7 separate regions of the Homo sapiens genome follow, and regions 1, 2, 3, 4, 5 and 7 are each linked to region 6. Evidence: promoter capture Hi-C in 16 types of primary human blood cells and fetal thymus (Javierre and others, 2016). All regions are on one chromosome and are shown on one strand. Each heading gives the region's core, a stretch centred on a gene start or on the middle of the fragment in contact. The rest is flanking DNA. Distances are from core to core; before and after follow the strand shown. Region 1 overlaps LOC124903134 (a long non-coding RNA gene). Region 2 has its middle 110 kb from the start of LINC00621. Region 3 has its middle 130 kb from the start of LINC00621. Region 4 overlaps LOC105370112 (a long non-coding RNA gene). Region 5 holds the start of GJB2 (gap junction protein beta 2). Region 6 holds the start of MICU2 (mitochondrial calcium uptake 2). Region 7 has its middle 160 kb from the start of LINC00621.

What was found. Contacts are between HindIII fragments. The CHiCAGO score rates a contact against its expected background, and 5 or more counts as called.
Region 1: a contact is called between a fragment that was not itself captured here and the fragment with the promoter of MICU2 in region 6, in 4 of 17 cell types (M0 macrophages, M1 macrophages, M2 macrophages and 1 more). The highest score is 16.1, in M0 macrophages.
Region 2: a fragment that was not itself captured here is called in contact with the fragment with the promoter of MICU2 in region 6 in 1 of 17 cell types (M1 macrophages); the score reaches 7.3 in M1 macrophages.
Region 3: a fragment that was not itself captured here is called in contact with the fragment with the promoter of MICU2 in region 6 in 3 of 17 cell types (M1 macrophages, M0 macrophages and endothelial precursors); the score reaches 7.2 in M1 macrophages.
Region 4: a contact is called between a fragment that was not itself captured here and the fragment with the promoter of MICU2 in region 6, in 1 of 17 cell types (M2 macrophages). The highest score is 6.6, in M2 macrophages.
Region 5: a fragment that was not itself captured here is called in contact with the fragment with the promoter of MICU2 in region 6 in 1 of 17 cell types (fetal thymus); the score reaches 6.2 in fetal thymus.
Region 7: a fragment that was not itself captured here is called in contact with the fragment with the promoter of MICU2 in region 6 in 1 of 17 cell types (endothelial precursors); the score reaches 5.1 in endothelial precursors.

What each region holds. Positions count from the first base shown.
Region 1 is chr13:23,145,132-23,147,831 of GRCh38, reverse strand. LOC124903134 (a long non-coding RNA gene) reads left to right here. Exons shown (of 2, transcript XR_007063719.1): 2 at 1-106. Among named protein-coding and RNA genes, the nearest start is that of LINC00362, 24 kb to the left of the region's middle. RefSeq lists an enhancer at 44-213. The HindIII fragment of the contact is 318 bases long and covers 1,224-1,541 here.
Region 2 is chr13:22,805,260-22,807,959 of GRCh38, reverse strand. No RefSeq gene overlaps it. Among named protein-coding and RNA genes, the nearest start is that of LINC00621, 110 kb to the left of the region's middle. The HindIII fragment of the contact is 3,428 bases long and covers 1-2,700 here.
Region 3 is chr13:22,786,937-22,789,636 of GRCh38, reverse strand. No RefSeq gene overlaps it. Among named protein-coding and RNA genes, the nearest start is that of LINC00621, 130 kb to the left of the region's middle. The HindIII fragment of the contact is 1,331 bases long and covers 697-2,027 here.
Region 4 is chr13:23,115,767-23,118,466 of GRCh38, reverse strand. LOC105370112 (a long non-coding RNA gene) reads left to right here. Exons shown (of 4, transcript XR_001749786.1): 2 at 325-462; 3 at 1,199-1,277. Among named protein-coding and RNA genes, the nearest start is that of LINC00362, 54 kb to the left of the region's middle. The HindIII fragment of the contact is 4,100 bases long and covers 1-2,700 here.
Region 5 is chr13:20,190,489-20,193,188 of GRCh38, reverse strand. GJB2 (gap junction protein beta 2) reads left to right here and starts at 251. Exons shown (of 2, transcript NM_004004.6): 1 at 251-406. The HindIII fragment of the contact is 914 bases long and covers 794-1,707 here.
Region 6 is chr13:21,602,834-21,605,533 of GRCh38, reverse strand. MICU2 (mitochondrial calcium uptake 2) reads left to right here and starts at 1,364. Exons shown (of 12, transcript NM_152726.3): 1 at 1,364-1,595. The coding sequence starts at 1,386. RefSeq lists enhancers at 1,181-1,250, 1,032-1,650, 1,651-2,270 and a silencer at 1,421-1,630. The HindIII fragment of the contact is 1,411 bases long and covers 624-2,034 here.
Region 7 is chr13:22,757,666-22,760,365 of GRCh38, reverse strand. No RefSeq gene overlaps it. Among named protein-coding and RNA genes, the nearest start is that of LINC00621, 160 kb to the left of the region's middle. The HindIII fragment of the contact is 4,442 bases long and covers 1-2,700 here.

The DNA.
Region 1 (2,700 bases), core at 133-2,632, 1.5 Mb before region 6:
CCAGGATGCAGAGTGGCCCAACTCCAGCGGAAAACTATCTTCCTTCTGGCTCCCTTATCTGCTGAGAGCTACTTCTACTCAATAAAACGTTACACTCATTCTCCAAGCCCACGTGTGATCCGATTCTGGTACACCAAGGCAAGAACCTGGGATACAGAAATATCTCTGTCCTTGTGATAAGGCAGGGGTCTACTTGAGCTGACCAACACAAGCTGCCTACAGATGGCTAAACTAAAAGAGCACCCTGTAGCATGCCCACTGGGGCTTCAGGAGTTGTAAACATTCACCCCTAGACACTGACTTAGGGTGGGAGCTCCACAGCCTGCCCATCTGTATGCTCCCCTAGCGGTTTGGGCAGCGGGGCACTGAAGAAGCGAGCCACACCCCTATCATCCGCCCTGCGAGGAGGACAAGGGAACTTTTCTGTTTCCGTGTCAAAAAGTTCCTCAAGACAAAACCTGATGAAACTATTCAATAGAGACTTTATGAGCCTTTAGACTCAAGGAGAACTGTTTCTGGGCCTGGGTAACTAAGTAACACAAAATCGGGGAGTAGCTCCCCACTACCTGGGGTCAGAAGTTGTGGGAGAATCAGAGGCAGGTCTGTGACATGGTTAACAGCAGGCTGAGACGGATGGGTAGACGCATCACAGTGACTGCAACAGACGGTTTTCTTTGGAAGCATGAGTGTGCAGCCCTGAAGGCTGTCCAAGAAATAGCTGCTGATAGTTAATGCATGGCAAAGGGGGATTTAAATCTCCTTACAAGTTGTAGCCAGTTTATTTTTGAGCTATATATATTTGGATCTGAGTATTCATGACTCATCTCTCTGACTGAAACCTATGCGTATATATTAAAATCTCAAAAGCAGAAGTTTGAGTTACATAAAAAGCAGACTTTGATTTCACAATAATTGTCAGACGCATGGTTTGAAAAAGTGGCTGGTGAGGATGACAGGACACATCCTGAAAATATTAGCAGTGAGTTTTAATAGCATGATTATGTTTTGTAAGGCAGTGAGTTCAGAAATATTTAGTTTTCTGTCATGTTATATGTCAACCATTGCAGTTTGGCTTCTCTGCTGCTCTGTTTCATATTTTTTCTCATTCCAGGACCTAGGTTAAAGGAGAACCTCTTATTTGAGATGTGCCAAGCATCACAGTTTTGGATTTATTTGGGAAAAATCAAGGGAGCTGGTGGAAACACACAATAGATCTTAAAGCTTCTGTTCCACCTGGCATATGTTAACACAAGTATACTCCTACACCAAGGCAAGTCGCCTACCCATACCTGGTATCAACAGAGCCTGGATGTATATGCTTATCCTTCACAAGATGCTGCAGTTCACTTGTCTGCAGATGGGCTTGTATAATCCTCTAAATTATTTAGAAACTAAAAGTAAGGGAGAATGATGACCGGTTCAGAACAATAGTGCAGTCTACCACACAGGTCAGTATCCAGCTTGTATTCTTCGATTTTCCTTGCTTTTATTTTCTGTCTTCAAAAATCAGCCAGTTTTACATTATTTCAAAACAAAAAGCTTTATTTGTTTTATCATTGAATTAGCTCAACTCATGTAGCATGACGCTTCTGTTTCCAACAGTTACACATTCTGGTTTTTTCTAGGACACTGGTTTTTAAGCTGAGACAGGCTTCCTTAAGTTTATGGGTCACTTGGTACTGACTCAGAAATAACAGTTCTCTAATTGATTCATGGCCTTTTATGTACAGATTCTGCGTGATTTTCTTGTTAACTCTACCTATGATATTATAAATCATAATTCATGGGCATAGGACCGTGTTTCAAGTTAAATACTATTTCTGTCGTATTTTAATAGTGCAACAAATATATTAGATAATAAATAAGAATGCTTCAAAATATTCCTGTAGCTATCAAATATGATAGATGTTTCAGATAGTCTTCACGTCTTAATTTTTATAGCTAAACTTGAATTATTTCAAAGCATTTCTCTTTGCTATAAATAATGAAACTAATGAGCAGTGCAGTGAAAATTTATTTTAGAGTTCCAATAGTCCACCATTAATAATCAATGTCTTTGGCCGGGCACGGTGGCTCACGCCTGTATCCCAGCACTTTGGGAGGCCGAGGCAGTTGGATCACCTGAGATCAGGAGTTCGCAACCAGCCTGGCCAACATAGTGAAACCCCGTCTCTGCTAAAAATACAAAAAATTAGCTGGACATGGTGGCAGGCACCTGTAATAATCCCAGCTACTCGGCAGGCTGAGGCAGGAGAATCACTTGAACCCGGGAGGCAGAGGTTACAGTGAGCCAAGATCACACCATTGCACTCCAGCCTGGGCAACAAGAGCGAAACTCTGTCTCAAAAAATAAAAATAAAAATAATAATAATAATAATAATAATGTTTTCATGCAATGTCTGTGTGGCCACTTCCTTTTCTATTTTGTTCAACTCAGTTATTTTGTGTAACGAACTTTGCCCATTTGTCTTTGAAATTTATTCCATGGCCATAGTAACTTTTGGCTTTATTTAACATTTTAATTTTCAAAGTTTTCACGTCAATTTTTTACTCTAATTTCTTAATACCAATTCCAGGTGATCTGTTAAATGATTTGTTGTAGAGCAACAGATTTTGAAGTTTCATTGAAATATTATAATGTTCTTACCTTTCTATAGACCTAATACATTTTTCTTCATTTTATTTAATTCAATCTGATTA
Region 2 (2,700 bases), core at 191-2,690, 1.2 Mb before region 6:
TCATTGAATTATTTCAGTGCCTTTGTTGGAAATCAGCCTTTGTTGGAAATTAGTTAACCTCATAAGTGTGAATTTACTTCTGCACTGTATATTCTGCTCCATTGAACTATACTTGTCCATCTTTATTCCAGTGTCACACTGTCCTGACTAGGGTAGCTTTATAGTATGTCTTGAAATCAGATAGTGTACACCCTTTGTTCTTTCTTCCTGTTTTTTGGTACACATTTCTTATTTACTTATTTATTTTTAATTGACAAAATTGTATATAATTATGTACAACATGATGTTTTGAAATATATATATATATATACACACATTTTTGAATGGCTAAATTGAGCTAATTAACATGTGCATTACCTCACATTTTATTTTGTGGTGAGGACACTTAAAATCTAGCAATTCTTAGTAATTTTAAAAAATACAACACAATATTGACTATAGTCACAATCTTGTACAATAGGTCTCTTGACCTTATTCTTCCTAACTGAAATTTTGTATCCTTTGACCAGCATCACCCCAACCTCTCCCCAAACCCCAACCCTTGCTAATCTCCTTCTATTTTCTACATCTGAGTTCAGCTTTTTTAGATTCCACATAGAAGTGAGATCAAGCAGTATTTTTTTGTGTCTGGCTTATTTCATTTAACATAGTGTCTTTCAGTTTTATCCATGTTGTCACAAATGACAGGATTTTCTTCTTTTTTAAGGCTAACATTATGTTGCGTGTATATTCCACATTTCTTTATCCATGCATTCATTGATGGATACTTATGTTGTTTATGTTGTTTCCATACCTTGGCTACTGTGAATAATGCTGGAATGAACATGCAGTGCACATATATTTTTGGCATACTGATTCTATTTTCTTTGGTTATATAATCAGTGTTGGGATTTCTGCATCACATGGTAGTTCTGTTTTTAATTTTTTTGAGGAAACTCCATATGGTTTTTCATAACAGCTGTATCAACTTACATTCCTACCAACAGTGTGCAAGGATACCCTTTTCTCAGCATCCTCGCCAACACTTGTTATCTCATCTTTTTGGTAATAGCTATTCTAACAGGTGTGAAGCGGTATTCTATTATGGTTTTAATTTACATTTGCTTGATGATTAGTGATGTTGAGCATATTTTCATATAACCACTGGCCATTCGTATGTCTTCTTTCAGGAAATATGCATTCAGGTCCTTTGCCCATTTTTTAACTGGGGTATTTCTTTCCTTGCTGACTTGAGTTCCTTATGTATTTTAGATAAGAACCACTTATCAGATGTATGATTTGCAATATTTTCCCCCATTTTGTAGGTTATCTGTTTACTCTGCAGTTGTTTCCCTGACTGTGGAAAATCTTTTCAGTTTGATGTAACCCCATTTGTCTATTTTTGCTTTTGCTGTGCTTTTGAGGTCGTCTTCAAAAAATCGTTGCTGAGACCAATGTTATGGAGCTCTTCCTCTATGTTGTTCTTTGTCAAGATTACATTGGCTATTCTACATTATTTCCATTTCCATATAAATTTTAAACCATCTTGGGAAATTCTAAAAAAAACCTAGGCCAGGCACGATGGCTCACGTCTGTAATCCCAGCACTTTGGGAGGCTGAGGTGGGCGGATCACGAGGTCAGGAGATGGGGACCATCCTGGCTAACACAGTGAAACCCCATCTCTACTAAAAAAAAATACAAAAAGTTAGCCGTGTGTGGTGGCAGGCACCTGTAGTCCCAGCTACTCGGGAGGCTAAGGCAGGAGAATCGCTTGAACCTGGGAGGCAGAGGTTCTTGTCTTGATGTACCTGAAGAATCAGATCACAAATAGACTTGGAGAATGAGTGCAAGGTTTTATTGAGCGGAAGTCACTCTCAGCAGACGGGGGAAGCCAGAAGGGAGATGATTTTCCCTCGACTCTTCTCCCACTGCTCCCTGCAAACTCTGCCTCGTTCCACCCATCGATGGCCTACTGGCCTGCTGGTGTCTGTCAGTGTACTCTTCCACCTGCGTGCTCCTTTCTACTCAGGAGACTGAAGCAGGAGGATTGCTTGAGCCCGGGAGTTCAAGGCTGCAGCGAGCCAAGATTGCGCCACTGCACTCCAGCCTGGGCAACAGAGTGAGGCCCTTTCTCAAAAAGAAAAAAAAGGTACAGCACTGGTCATATTTACCTCTTGCCTAACATTCATAAACACAAACCCTCTGACAGAAGGATGAAGCCCACTTCTCTCATGTTGTGGAAAAGGCCTGGCTGGGAGGCGCCCTGGTCTGCCTCTGACGGGTCTCTTGCCCTGTTTCTGATGCTTCAGACTCAGTATTTCAACCGTAATGAACTACATAAAGTTTCTCAAAATATGTTTGTTTCAGAACTGTAATTTTTATTAAGCAGTTGAACAATCACTTGCTAGTAATTTCCTTTTCCTCTTTGTGTTCTTTGAAAATATTTATTTCTGAAAAATGAGCTTAATTGAAATCTCCTTTATGAAACCACTTTCCTGGACATCTCTGTCCCCATCCAGTTAAAACTGTCCACTCCTCATCTGTGTGTGTCCCTCCACAACAAATGGAATGCCACATGATCACAGCATCTTCAATTATCTTATTCTCATTTATTTATATATTTGTTTATTCTCCATTAATTTTTTTATATTCTTATTCATTTATTCATGTGATGAAATAAAAGTAATTGATAGGAGTCAGCTCTAAGACTTTACTTTGCT
Region 3 (2,700 bases), core at 113-2,612, 1.2 Mb before region 6:
TATAGAGGTCTTTGTGAGGCTTCAGAAATTGCTGAAGATCCCTTCAAAGCAAAACTGATTTTACAAAACTCTCATCCTCCCCCGTCTCCTCTCGCCACAGGATCAGGTCAGGTACTGAGTCATACAAACAGGTAATCCACCAAGCTGCACTCCACGCAGTTAAGTGGCTCTAACATAAACTCTCATTGCAAGGGGGGTGGGGGAATGTGAGATAAAAGCACCATTTATCTTTTGCACACTCGCCGAAAATCTACCCATTATACAGTGTAGACCTGGATGAGGGCTGCTTGTGCTCTTTTGATGTGGGAGAATTTGCTTTGTCCCAGAACAGTAGTCAATGGTCCAGCTTTTCTTCTCCCTTGGCAGAATGTGGGTATTTACTTGCTGCACATTCCAGCACTTTGATAGATCGCTGAGCTGAACTTGGCCTGCGCTGAGCTAAGGAGATCAAGACTTGGACAGATTCTTTGTTCTGTCCCCTGGTGTCAGCGACTTGGAGTACTCAGCCTGTCGACTCTGGGGCCTTTCAATGGGAGGACAGATCCTTGAGTTCACAGATAGAGCAACAAAGGTTTGCTTATGGGGTAGTGGCCTCCCCTGAAAAATAGCTTTTTTGTGTCAGGATATTTATCATGCTCTCATGTCATCATTTCAGAGTTTACTGTGGCAGTCTTAGCTCAGACAGTGCATGAAGCTTTTTATCTGTTAATGTGAATATCGCTTTGAAGCCCAGGCAGGGAATACGTTATAAGTTTAGTGATAGAGAAGCTCAAATAGTTGAGTAACAAGTGAGAGAGGATGGAGAAAGATATAGGGCTGCTAATGGAGGGAAAAATTAATCTAATCATCCTTTAGTTAGAGAAACAGATCTTTGTTCCCCACCTTACTCAGAAATCTCAGGTATTTAGAGTCATGTAAGTGTGGTTTCATCTTATTCTTCATCTGGGTACTGATTTGCAATAAAGGAAATATTTCAAAGCATTAAACTTAATTAGATTATTTTTATGCTTATAGAGTGCTAGAATTAGAGGACCTGGAACAAATGGAGAGATTATCTTGTCAACACTTGTTTTGTGGAAGACACATCTCCAAAATCACATTTACATTTTATTTCCATTTTCTTCATTCAGAAAGGCCATGAGACAGATTTTCCTGGAGTCCTATTTTATCAAAATTAAATTCCCTTGAGTTTATTTATTTGTTTAGATTTAAAAATAATCTCAGAGAGAAGTGCTTTCACTTCTGATTTACTTTAGTGTGTTATAAAAACAAAACCCCCGAGCAACCACAGATCTTCTACACACATGGGCAAAATGACTATTGATATTGTTAAAAGCCTCAGATAGAATTCTAAGTGAAGGTACTCAAGAAATATCTATCCACTAAGTGGTGGTAGATGAAACTTAGAAAAAAGAAAAGATAGGCTATGTGCCCTTTCATGGCACTACATAACCTTTAAGTCAAACATCAAATAAAACCTCTTGGAGAGAAAACCTGCTAAGATACCATGTGATTTTTGCCACTAAGTATAGTTAAATATCTAGTGATTTTTACCCATAGAAAATTATGACCAAACTTGCTGGTATTATATTTTTCATGATTATTGAAGAAAAGAAAGTTTGGTTTGTGGGCACTACATATATTTACTTAAAGATGACATGAATGAAGCATGCTGTTAGCTGTTTGCTAAAGTACAATTTTAGTAGAGACTCATATTTATATCTCTTTATAATTTTATTGTATGTAGCTTATATTGTGAGCATTTAGTGAGAAGCAGGACATGACTTTACTTGAGTTAACTGACACTTACATTTCTTTCTGTTCTGATTATCCCCCTACTTTGAAAATAGATTATGGTCTGTCAGGTGTGAGTGAGCTGCCGTCTCTCAGCTGAAACCCACACCAACTACAAATATTTATTTACATATATATTTATTTTACTTCCTTAAACTGATTATTTCTATATACACAGATTTTGTTGTCTATTTGCCCTTCTTGCAAATCTTATTGTATATGTGTAAAAAGCTTAATTACTCTTTTGAATGATCTAGTTACATAGACTAATTTATAAACCTTTTTGAAGAGCACTATAGTTTAAAAGGAAAAATGCTCTGTCAATCTTAAGGCTTCATATTATAGTCAGCTCTTAAAACTATGAGAAAATCTGTACTTTTGTCAATGGGTTTAAATATAAATTCAAAATTGTATTCATAGTAGCATAAAGTGTTTGCAGTGAGCTGAGATCGCGCCACTGCACTCCAGCCTGGGCGACAGAGCGAGACTCCATCTCAAAAAAAAAAAATAATAATAAATAAATAAATAATAAAAATAACATAAAGTGTAGTAGAATTAGGGGTATTGGTTTTAACGTGTTCAACTGCAAGTAACAAAGAACCAAGAACAAAACTGCTTGTTATTTATTTAGCACGTGTTCCAGCAGTAAGCTATCTCAAAGTTTTCCAGCTGTTTGTTCCACTATTCAAAGTATCTTGATTTTTGGTATTTATAATTATCACTTATTTTCTTTTTGTAATAAAAAAGCTATAAAGAAAGATCCAGTATAATTCCATCACCCAGATTCAATAATTCCAAGATTTTGTTTATGTATTCTTTTGCCTTTTCTTATTCTCTCTTTATTTTTTGAAAAATTATCTCAAGACTGCGTTGTGGCTCACGCCTGTAATCCCAGCACTTTGGGAG
Region 4 (2,700 bases), core at 92-2,591, 1.5 Mb before region 6:
AACATTTGTTCACACTCAGCAATTGCTGTTCTTTGCATATGCCCTGGAGTAATGGAAACATGCATGAGAATGTTTAGCTTGACATTGTTTATTAAAGTGAAAAATTGGAAATCAACTAAATGTTTATCATCTGGATAAAATACATTTGTGGTACTTTTATACAAATAAAAAAGTAACATGTAGCATAATCACTTCCTTTGAATGCTTTTACAGGTGCTGAGCGCAATTCAAAATTGTTTTCATGTATTATTTTATTTTATCCTCATCATACCTCTAGGAGTACTAATCATCATCATTATCATCATCATTGTCCTCATTTTACAGAGAAGTGAGTGAGAGAGCTGGGATATGACTTCAGGAATCCATATTCTTACTAACTACATTATGCTGGTTTTGGAGAATTGTAGAGGACCTCTGAGGAATCTTCCTGAGGAATGCTCTTTGCAAAGCTCTGCTCCAGAGGTGACTAGATGATGGCACACCCCTGTTCTTGCCTTCCTGGCCTCCTGTTAATATGCAGTCTCTCAGACCAAGATTGATTCCTAGGGTACCTATGTGAGAAAAGGCAGATATGTGTACAGACAAGAGAATGGTAGCTTACTTGGGACGATAAACTGCTTGTTATATAAAATTTTTGAGGGTTGTAAATTAACATTGCACACTCTGAAAAAATGTAATTTTATTAAATTAAAGGAATAACATAGACTCTTGAGTGTAAGAAGAGATAATAGACTTAATATAAACAACCCTAATAACATATTGGCTTGTTGTAAAGGTTCAATGAAATTGTTTATCAATTGCCTGGTGCATGGTAGGCATTTGATAAACATTCTCATCTTTAAATTTTCTGTTTACAGTACTTTTGTTTATTTTAACACCTCAATAACCCACGGACTTTCATAGAAAAGCCCTTGAGGTCTGAATTTATGAATTTGTATGTGCTGATTTCAGCATGTTCTAAGTATACAAGCAAAGAAGCAAGAAATAATAATGGTTTTGAGTAGTTGTGCAAAGTCAGCAGCCAGAGAGATGTCTAAGAACAAGTAAAAGTTTATTAATAAGTAGGGGAAAGTGGAGGTCACTTATTGGCCAAGACCAAATAAATTTCAGAGATAGTTAATAATTCCTATCAGCAGTATACCCTTGAAAATAGTCATGAATTTCTGTCACCTTGATAGAATATTTGTTGCTGTTTCAGATGATGGCGAACAGCACTGAACAAAACAAAAACCTCAGCCACCATGAAGCTCAGCGACAGACAATAAACACATACACAGGTAAAATATATGTCATGTCAATATTGAGAGAGAGGGTGACAGGTGTCTTGCTGGAAAATAAAACAGGAAAAGGTGTTATGGTGTGAGGATGGTGCCAGGAATTACAACTGAAAATTAGGTAGGAAGGTTCCGTGGAGAAGCGGCATTTGAGTAAAGACCTGAGGGGTGGGTGAGAGTGAGGGAAAGACAATTTCTGAGGAGAGAGAATAACAAATATAGAAGAATTCCTGTTAGTTCCAGGAACAGCAAGAGGTCAGTTTGCTTGACTGCAGTATCCAGGAAGTGAGTGGAGACGTGGACGTCTCAATCACGCAACACTTTGCTAGCCACTGAAAAGACATTGGCTTGTTTCTGAGTGAGATGGAAAACCATGGAATGATACCTCATGGACTGGATTACATTCCTTCCAAATTTGTATGTGGAAGCTCTAGCCCCCAGAGTGAATGCATTTGGAGGTCAAGCCTTTGGAGAGATAATTAAAGTTAAATGAGGTTCTATGATTGGAGCCCTATTCCAATGGGACTGGAGCCCTTATTAGAAGAGATTGAGACATGTGAGAGATCACAGGGATTCACGTGCTCAGAGGAGACCATGTGAGGACACAGGGAGAAGGTGGCCACCTGCAAGCTAAGGAGACAGGCCTCGAGAGAAACTGAACCTGCTGGCACCTTGACATTGGACTTTCAGCCTTCAGAACTGTGAGGCAACGTTTTACTTGTTTAAGCCACCTAGGCTGTGGTATTTTGTTATGGCACCTCTAGCTGATGTATACAGATACTGATAAGCTGGTATAATCTAGCTTAATTTTTAAAAATGGCATTCAGACTGCCTTGTAGGGAAAAGAGTGCAACGATAGGAGTAGGGTGACAGACGTTTATTGCAATGGTCCAGGTGGGAGGGGACAGTGGCTTGGGCAGAAGTGGTGGTCATTGTGGAGGAGACAGCAGTTAAGGCTACTTTTTACAGTTGGTGCAGTCTGGTGATGGGTTGGACGTAGGGTAAGAGAAAAAGAGCAGAGCTAAGGAGAATTGCATATTTTGGCCCCCAAACAAATGGATGTCTGGAAAAGCAAGTTTAAGGGGACAGATGAGGAGTTTGGTTTTTGGACATTGAGTCAATGCAGAAGTGTCAAGTAAGTAGTTAGATAGATGAGTCAGGAATTGAAAGGAGAGGCAGAGATATAAATATGGATGTTTTAAGCCATGACACTGGATTGGATCAATAAGTGATGGACTGAAGTTAGAGAGAGAAGAGGCTGAAAGCCTAAGCCAGAGGTCACTGGTGAACGCCAATATTTAGAGTTTGGGGACATGAGGAGAGAGAGGCAAGTGCTGTGAAAGAAATAGCTAGTGAAATGGAAGGAAAATTAGGAGAGAGTACTCAGGGCCATATCCTAGAGCTATGTGAACGTGGTGTCTTTTGG
Region 5 (2,700 bases), core at 1-2,500, 1.4 Mb after region 6:
TCAGGGCGCTGGGGGCACTTGGGGAACTCATGGGGGCTCAAAGGAACTAGGAGATCGGGACCTCGAAGGGGACTTGGGGGGTTCGGGGCTTTCGGGGGCGGTCGGGGGTTCGCGGACCCGGGAAGCTCTGAGGACCCAGAGGCCGGGCGCGCTCCGCCCGCGGCGCCGCCCCCTCCGTAACTTTCCCAGTCTCCGAGGGAAGAGGCGGGGTGTGGGGTGCGGTTAAAAGGCGCCACGGCGGGAGACAGGTGTTGCGGCCCCGCAGCGCCCGCGCGCTCCTCTCCCCGACTCGGAGCCCCTCGGCGGCGCCCGGCCCAGGACCCGCCTAGGAGCGCAGGAGCCCCAGCGCAGAGACCCCAACGCCGAGACCCCCGCCCCGGCCCCGCCGCGCTTCCTCCCGACGCAGGTGAGCCCGCCGGCCCCGGACTGCCCGGCCAGGAACCTGGCGCGGGGAGGGACCGCGAGACCCAGAGCGGTTGCCCGGCCGCGTGGGTCTCGGGGAACCGGGGGGCTGGACCAACACACGTCCTTGGGCCGGGGGGCGGGGGCCGCCTTCTGGAGCGGGCGTTTCTGCGGCCGAGCTCCGGAGCTGGAATGGGGCGGCCGGGGAAGTGGACGCGATGGCACCGCCCGGGGTGCGAGTGGGGCCGGGCGCGCGCGGGAGGGGAAAAAGGCGCGGGCGAGCCGCCAGCGCGAGGTTTGTGGTGTCGCCGATGTCCCTTCGGGGTACTCTAGCGCAGCCGCCTGGCTACTTGACCCACTGCCACCAAACGTTTTAAATTCACCGAAAGCTTAGCTTCGAAGCAAAGCTCCGTTTCGCCGGTGAAGCAGGAAGCCTTCGCTGCAGGAACTGACCTTTACCTCTTGGAGCGGCTTCTGCAGAAAAATCCCCGGGCAGAGATTTGGGCGGAGTTTGCCTAGAACTAACGCGGAGCCAGCCGATCCCGGCCTACCCCGGGGCCAAGATTTCAGTGGCTTCCCTTTTTCCTAAACACTTCACGAGGGTCTGTTTCCGGGCTGTGCTCCCCGCCTAGAAGGAAAATTTTTAGGACCCTTGTTCGCGAAGAGGTGGTGTGCGGCTGAGACCCGCGTCCTCAGGACGGTTCCATCAGTGCCTCGATCCTGCCCCACTGGAGGAGGAAGGCAGCCCGAACAGCGCTCACCTAACTAACAGCTGCTGAGAGCTGGGTTCCGTGGCCATGCACCTGGGACTGCCTTGAGAAGCGTGGTACGGCCGTGTCCCCATGTGACCTTAGAGTCCCTTTCGAAACTGCTGTGCACAGTCGGTCACAATTTCAGACACTGGTGAGAAGGGTGGAGGAACCCTCTGGGGACAGCCAGGCAAGGTCGACCACCCATCACCTAAGGGTGGAGAAATTTAAGGGGTGAAGAGTCCCTTTTGCCTTTTCTGGATCCTGGTGATTCACCTAGTGTCTTCCCTAAGGAACTGAACCAACTCCTCCGCTGGCCTCTGGCAGCCCTCCAGGCGGTGCAGGATGGCGTGGGCCCGGTAGGAAGCTGCATGTAACCGCCCAGGGTCGGGAGGCCAGGAGGGCAGCTCCTCCTCTGACTTGAATATTGAAAACAACTTCGTCCTGCTTCTGAGCCCCTCTTAACCCATGACCCCCTAGCCCATTGGGGAGTAAATCTTAATTTACTCCTCTTCCTGAAAAAGGATCTTTAAAACAGGTAGCTTCAACTCAAGCTTTATAAAATAACAATATAGGGTTTCTCGGAACTGTATTTTTCTCAGCTGATGGTAACTGGACAGGTCTGTAGAAGGGTGTATGACCTGGGTTTGGCAGGTGGAAGAGGGCAAAGGATAAACCCCTCCTCCTGCAGCCCCATATTCTTGGCCAGGTGTATTGTTGTAAACCAGGAGAGAGTTTACTTCGGGGAGTATCCTGTTTTCCACTCAGTGAGGGCCAATGAAGAATGTCTAATTCCATAAGATGCTTTTGTTAAAATCGGAATGTTGCTGTCCTCGGTGGTTCTGCTGTTGGGACGGGACTGGCCTGAGCTGTGGGTGCTGTAGCAGGACAACCAGCTCACCTAAGGGCCTCCCAGTCTGGATTATCAATGGGTCAGTGCTGAACCTGGGCTAAAATATTGTTTTTTCCAATGATGTTGTCTTTCCCAAGCTCAGTGAAGCTAAATGTTTCACAGGCCTATGTCAATCTGATGTAACTTTCGTGGCCACCTCTCTCCTGTTAGCCTCTGACCAAGGTGGCACTGGATGGTTTCTGCCTGACCTTGGTGCCCCGTGGCAGCGACTGTGGGTCATGAAAGACATTCACTACGAGCCTGCTTCTGGAGTCCATCAGAAAACGGGATGCAACTTGCCTAAAATGAGGAGAGGAGGATGCTTTTAAGAAAAAGAAGAAGGAGGATTCACTACCAGCTCTGAAGGGTGGAAAAGAGATGATTCATCCGGATTGTGGAGAGGGTGGAATCTTGTTTAGGAGAGCGTTGGTTGTGGCAGGCAGGGTGTAACTATGAATCAGTGAAGACAATTCACATCCTGGGATGAAAAGAAGGCCATGGGCTCACAGGAGATTATCCACTGGCCTCTCCACATCCGCTTGCAGTAAGGAGTGTGGGACTCTCCCAAGCTTCAGCGCTGAACTGCAATGCAGTGACGTCGCTTAGCTGGGCCAGTAACCGAGGGAGTTGAATTTTCTGTCATTTTAAAATAATGTG
Region 6 (2,700 bases), core at 115-2,614:
AAACGCACATCTGTCATGAGCCTACCATGTGCCAGGCATTTGGCTAGTCACTTTATATAAAATATCTCATTTAGCTTCCCCACCCCAAACTGTAAGAGGGTTGTTCACAGATGAAAAAATTGAGACTCAAAGAGATTAAATACCTTACCCCAAATAGCAGTGATCATCTACCAAATCGTGAGTTATTTACAAATGAGAAAATGGAGACTCAGAGAGATTAAATAATTTGCCCCAAACCACAGTGATCATCCTGGTAGAGCTAAGATTCAAACCTTGAGGTCTGGCTCACAAGTCGGTGAAGTGAGGCTCATCTCTCTACTTCCTACCTGGGAAGGCACACTGAAAAGTAAGTCCAGAAGCTGACGGAAAAGTGAGGAACCTCTGACTGCAGATTAATTTAGACAAGCGGGCTAAGAGAAAGGGAGCAAGGATTAAGGGCAGATAATAACAAAGGGATCCACGGAACTTCCACTGAATGATCAAATTAGATTTCGTGTGACAGGTTTTTGTTTTTGTTTCTTGAAGTTTTGTTTTGTGCAAAACTTCAAGACAGCAGTGATTATGTGATTAGGAGTCTTGGCCCCTTTGATGTTGGCTCCGTTACTGCATGCCCAACTAAAGCTTCTAATAGCTGGGGACATTTCAGAGGCTGAACAAAGAGTTTATTAAAAAGAGTTACTCAGGAAAAGTGAAGACCAAAGAATGGAGGATTGGAGGCTGTTAAATAAAACCAAGTAGTCTGCCTCAGCTACATCACTTATCACCAATGCAACAGCCAGGACTGGAGGTATCGTTCTAAATCTGCACTGGGGAAAACCTCTGGGTCCCTGATGATAGAGACATGGGGCTGGTGTGCTGCTGTCTCTGACTTTTAGTTCTAGGTAGGATAAGAGCTACTATCAAACCTTTTGTTGAAACTGAATTTAAATTCATTATAAGCAAATAGTGAGGGACTGAAATAAACAGAATGCCTTGTCTGAGAGTTGTTTTAGCAGAAATGAAAGAACAGTCAAGACTATAAGCATAGGAAGACATGAACAACACAGATGCAGAAGAGACTATTTCAAAAAACGTTTCACAGTTTTACAAGGTGAAAAAATGAAAAGGAGAAACCTGCCCACACAACCGAGGGCACTATCTTGTTTTGGACTAGGAAGTCATATTATACTGTCTTGATACTCTTCCTGTCATCCCATCCCCACAGCCTTAGAAGGCAGCCCCGGAACCGAAGGCCACCTCTTGCGGCTGCGAGCGTCGCCTCAGCAACCGCACCCACGGCGCAGGCCCGGTAGGCGGGGCGGAAGCCTGTCGGATGTCGCGAGAGTTCCCAAGCGGTAGGCGGCGGCGCCGGGAGAGAAGCGCCGCCTAGCTGCGCTTCCGCAAAGATGGCGGCGGCTGCGGGTAGCTGCGCGCGGGTGGCGGCCTGGGGCGGAAAACTGCGACGGGGGCTCGCTGTCAGCCGACAGGCTGTGCGGAGTCCCGGCCCCTTGGCAGCGGCAGTGGCCGGCGCGGCCCTGGCAGGAGCAGGAGCGGCCTGGCACCACAGCCGCGTCAGTGTTGCGGCGCGGGATGGCAGTTTTACAGTCTCCGCACAGGTACAGGACTAACTCCTTCTGCTAGCCCCAGTCAAGCTCCTCCCTCCCCTGACGCCCTTAGGCGGGGAGTGGTTTGGCTCTGGGCGGCTCTCCCGGAGCCGTGGGTGGAGGTGCCGCTGCGGATCGGAGCGCCCTGCGACTGGTGGGACTCGCTCCTTCCTGGACCGGCCCCCGGCCTGAGTCCCCGAGGGCCTTCGAGGCTGGTGACCGGAGATTCTGCCTCCCTTGGGAGAACCCCGCGGACGCTGAACACCACGGCCCACAAAACTGGCCGCACTAATTTAGTGGTGATGAGTGTGGGCGTGTCTTAATTCGAGGCTCCTAATTCAGAATCTCACTGCGCCTCGCCTCTTGCTACCTCTCTGGTCAGTGAAGTGGCATTCACATCCGCAGGTGGTTTGCGTCCAGTTACCCCTGTGGGATATACCTTTGTTAAGCTTTGCAACTAAGTTTTACGATCTTTTCTTTGTATAGCATGATGAAGTTCTGTCGATTGCTTTTTTAAGTCACGAATGTGTCAGCCACAAAAATTAACCAGTTGATTTCCAGATTTTATTATCAACTTTAAGGAACATTATTGCATGATTATAAACCTTAATATCTTAGTGGACCATAAGTTCTAAGCAAAAATTGCTCCTAAAACCTCCATCTATTAAAGACAAGAGTCCGCCGGGCGCGGTGGCACACGCCTTTAATCCCAGGGCTTTGGGAGGCCGAGGCGGGTGGATCTCCTGAGGTCAGGAGTTCGAGACCAGCCTGGCCAACATGGTGAAGCCGCTCCCCACCCCAGCCCCGCCCCCCCGGTCTCTACTAAAAAATATAAACAATTAGCTGGGTGTGGTGGCGGGAGGCTGAAGTAGGAGAACCGCTTGAATCCGGGAGGCGGAGGTTGCAGTGAGCCAAGATCGAGCCATTGCACTCCAGCCTGAGCTACAAGAGCGAAACTCCGTCTCAAAAAAAAAAAAAAAAGATTCAAGTTCCCTATTTCAGGATAAATGATGTTGTAACGCATTTGAAAATTTGAATGAGTAGTGCTTTAAAATTTTTGTAGACTTAGTAAGTTTTTACATATGAGCTTTTTTGAAAATTGAAAGTAGTAGTTTAT
Region 7 (2,700 bases), core at 109-2,608, 1.2 Mb before region 6:
AGCTACTGTAAAAGAAATTGTTCCTGTAATTTAATTTTCAGACTGTTGATTTTTAGGGCACAAAATGCATTTTTTTTTTTTTTGAGACGGAGTCTTGCTCTGTCGCCACGCTGGAGTGCAGTGGCATGATCTCGGCTCATTGCAACCTCTGCCTCCCCAGTTCAAGCAATTCTCCAGGCTCAGCCTCCCAAGTAGCTAGGACTACAGGCGCCCGCCACCACTACCATTTTTTAGTAGACATGGGGTTTCACCATGTTGGCCAGGATTGTCTCGATCTCATAACCTCGTGATCCCCACTTTCGGCCTCCCAAAGTGCTGGGATTACAGGCATGAGCCACCGCGCCCTGCCAAAAAATGCAATTTTTATTTATGTAGAATTAGTAATAATGTCCCCACTTCCCTTTCTGAATTTAGTAATTTGTCTTCTTTCTTTTTTTCTTAGTTCATTTAGCTAAAGGCTTGTTAATTTTATCTTTTCAAAGACCTTTTTAGTTTCACTGATTTTTTTTCTATTCTCTATTTCATTTATCTCTGCTCTGATATTAATTATTTCCTTCCTTCTGCTAGCTTTGGATTTAGTTTGTTCTTTTGCTAATTTTTTAAGTTGTAAAGTTGGATTGTGATTTGAAATCTTTCCTTTTTTTTTTTTTTTTTTGGGACAGAGTTTTGCTCTGTTGCCCAGGCTGGAGTGCAGTGGCCCGATCTTGGCTCACTGCAAGCTCTGCCTCCCGGGTTCATGCCATTCTCCTGCCTCAGCCTCCCGAGTAGCTGGGACTACAGGGGCCCACCACCACACCTGGCTAATTTTGTTTTAGTAGAGATGAGTTTTCGCCATGTTGGCCAGGATGGTCTCGATCTCCTGACCTCATGATCCGCCCGCCTCGGCCTCCCAAAGTGCTGGGATGACAGGGGTGAGCCACTGCACCCGGCTGATTAAATCATTCTTAGATGTGTGATCTTGAGTAGATTACTTAACTCTTCCATGTCTTGGTTTCCTAGTCTGTAAGAAAAAGATACAATAATAATACCTCACAGGGTTGTTGTGAACCTTAAATATGTAACTGCATGTAAAGCAGATACAGGACTGACATGGAATTAATGCTCAATAAAGGATAGGTCTAATTACTTTGTTACTGAGAAATTGATGTCAGGATATAAAAAAGACTTAAGAAGGGCACACATGCCAATGTATTACCTGTACATCCTTGGAATTTACCACTTCCCACAGATGTATATTGGTCCTCTGTCTGCAAATGATTTTACTCTCATGGCCATAGTGATCCACTGTTACCCACCGACTTACTCATGGCAACAGCTAATACCTTTATTTCCTGCTGTAAAAAAGTCTTTTCATCCGAAATATTCTCAGATTTCTTCTCATCTACTTTAACACCTAGTGGGAGGTGACGTGCTTTATGATCTATGCCTTCATTTAGTTTAGCTAGTTACTTCCGCAAGAAAGAAGACCACATTCATATTGAGAAATTTATAATTGTCCTTACAGTACACAATTTGCATCTAAAATCGATAAATATCATGTTTGACCTAAATCTGTGGGGCTAGAAATGTTCAATTATCTGGTTAATAACACAATTTACATTTGGATCACTTTAGTAACGAATCTTTACAGCTAGGATTGAAAGTGATACTCTACCACAACTAGCACCACTACCTTCTAGACCTGTCTTTTGCTTTGTCTAGATCTACACCAACTAGATGTAGTTGACACTTAGTAGTTTGCACATTGTCTTTGATGTTGGTGAACGTATGTGACTAACACTGCCCTGGCCCCTGAGTTTAAGCAAGTCCAACTACAGCTTCTACAGATGACACCTGATTGACCCAGAAGACCCTAGGACTCACATCTGGACTGCAGCACGGAAACCAGGTACCCGAGAACACAGGCCTACCACTCCCCTTCCCAGCTTTGTTATTCAACTCCTCCTCCAGTTGTGCATAAATTCCTCACAAAGCCTCTCCTTCTTATGCTCACGCTGGTTAGCTTTGGGTTTTGCTATTCACAACAATAGCTTTGTGGAATTTTTTTTTTTTTTAATATACTTGTATGCTCCAATTTAAGAAACTGACCAAAGTTGTGGGTAGGAAAGGAAAGTAGAAAGTTAAAGTGAGGAAACTGTTTAATTTTATAGAGGCTTCGTAGATTTCTAAGTGTTAGCCATAATTTTTCATACATCATTCTATATTTTTGAAATGATTCAATTTGCATGGACATATGAACTATTACATAAAATATAGTAGATATCTAGACTATTGCATAAATATTATTGGATAACATTTTATTGGATAAAACAAAGAGAACCATGAACTCCAATTCAACATTGGAAAAATAACATTGTAAGGCAAAATAAGATTGCAAAGCATTCTGAATGTGTTTAGGTTTAAAATGAAAGGTTAGCTTACCTTAATATATGCTTTCCCGTGGAAAAAATACCATATTCTTAGAAACTCTGAAACATAAATGAGGTAAAGAAATGCACACTCATTATTGATAAAGTGTTACGTGTTTCTTATCACTTTAAATTATTTTTTGCCATGGAACTTTTAGTGTTTTTTTAATATTTGGGAAGTTTTTTTCCCTTGAATATAAGGTGTAAATTCTCATAATGCCATATGGTGGAGCTGGTGGACAAAGATTGACTCCTAAAGGTTTTATTATTTTGATGGTTGCTCTGTGTGAGA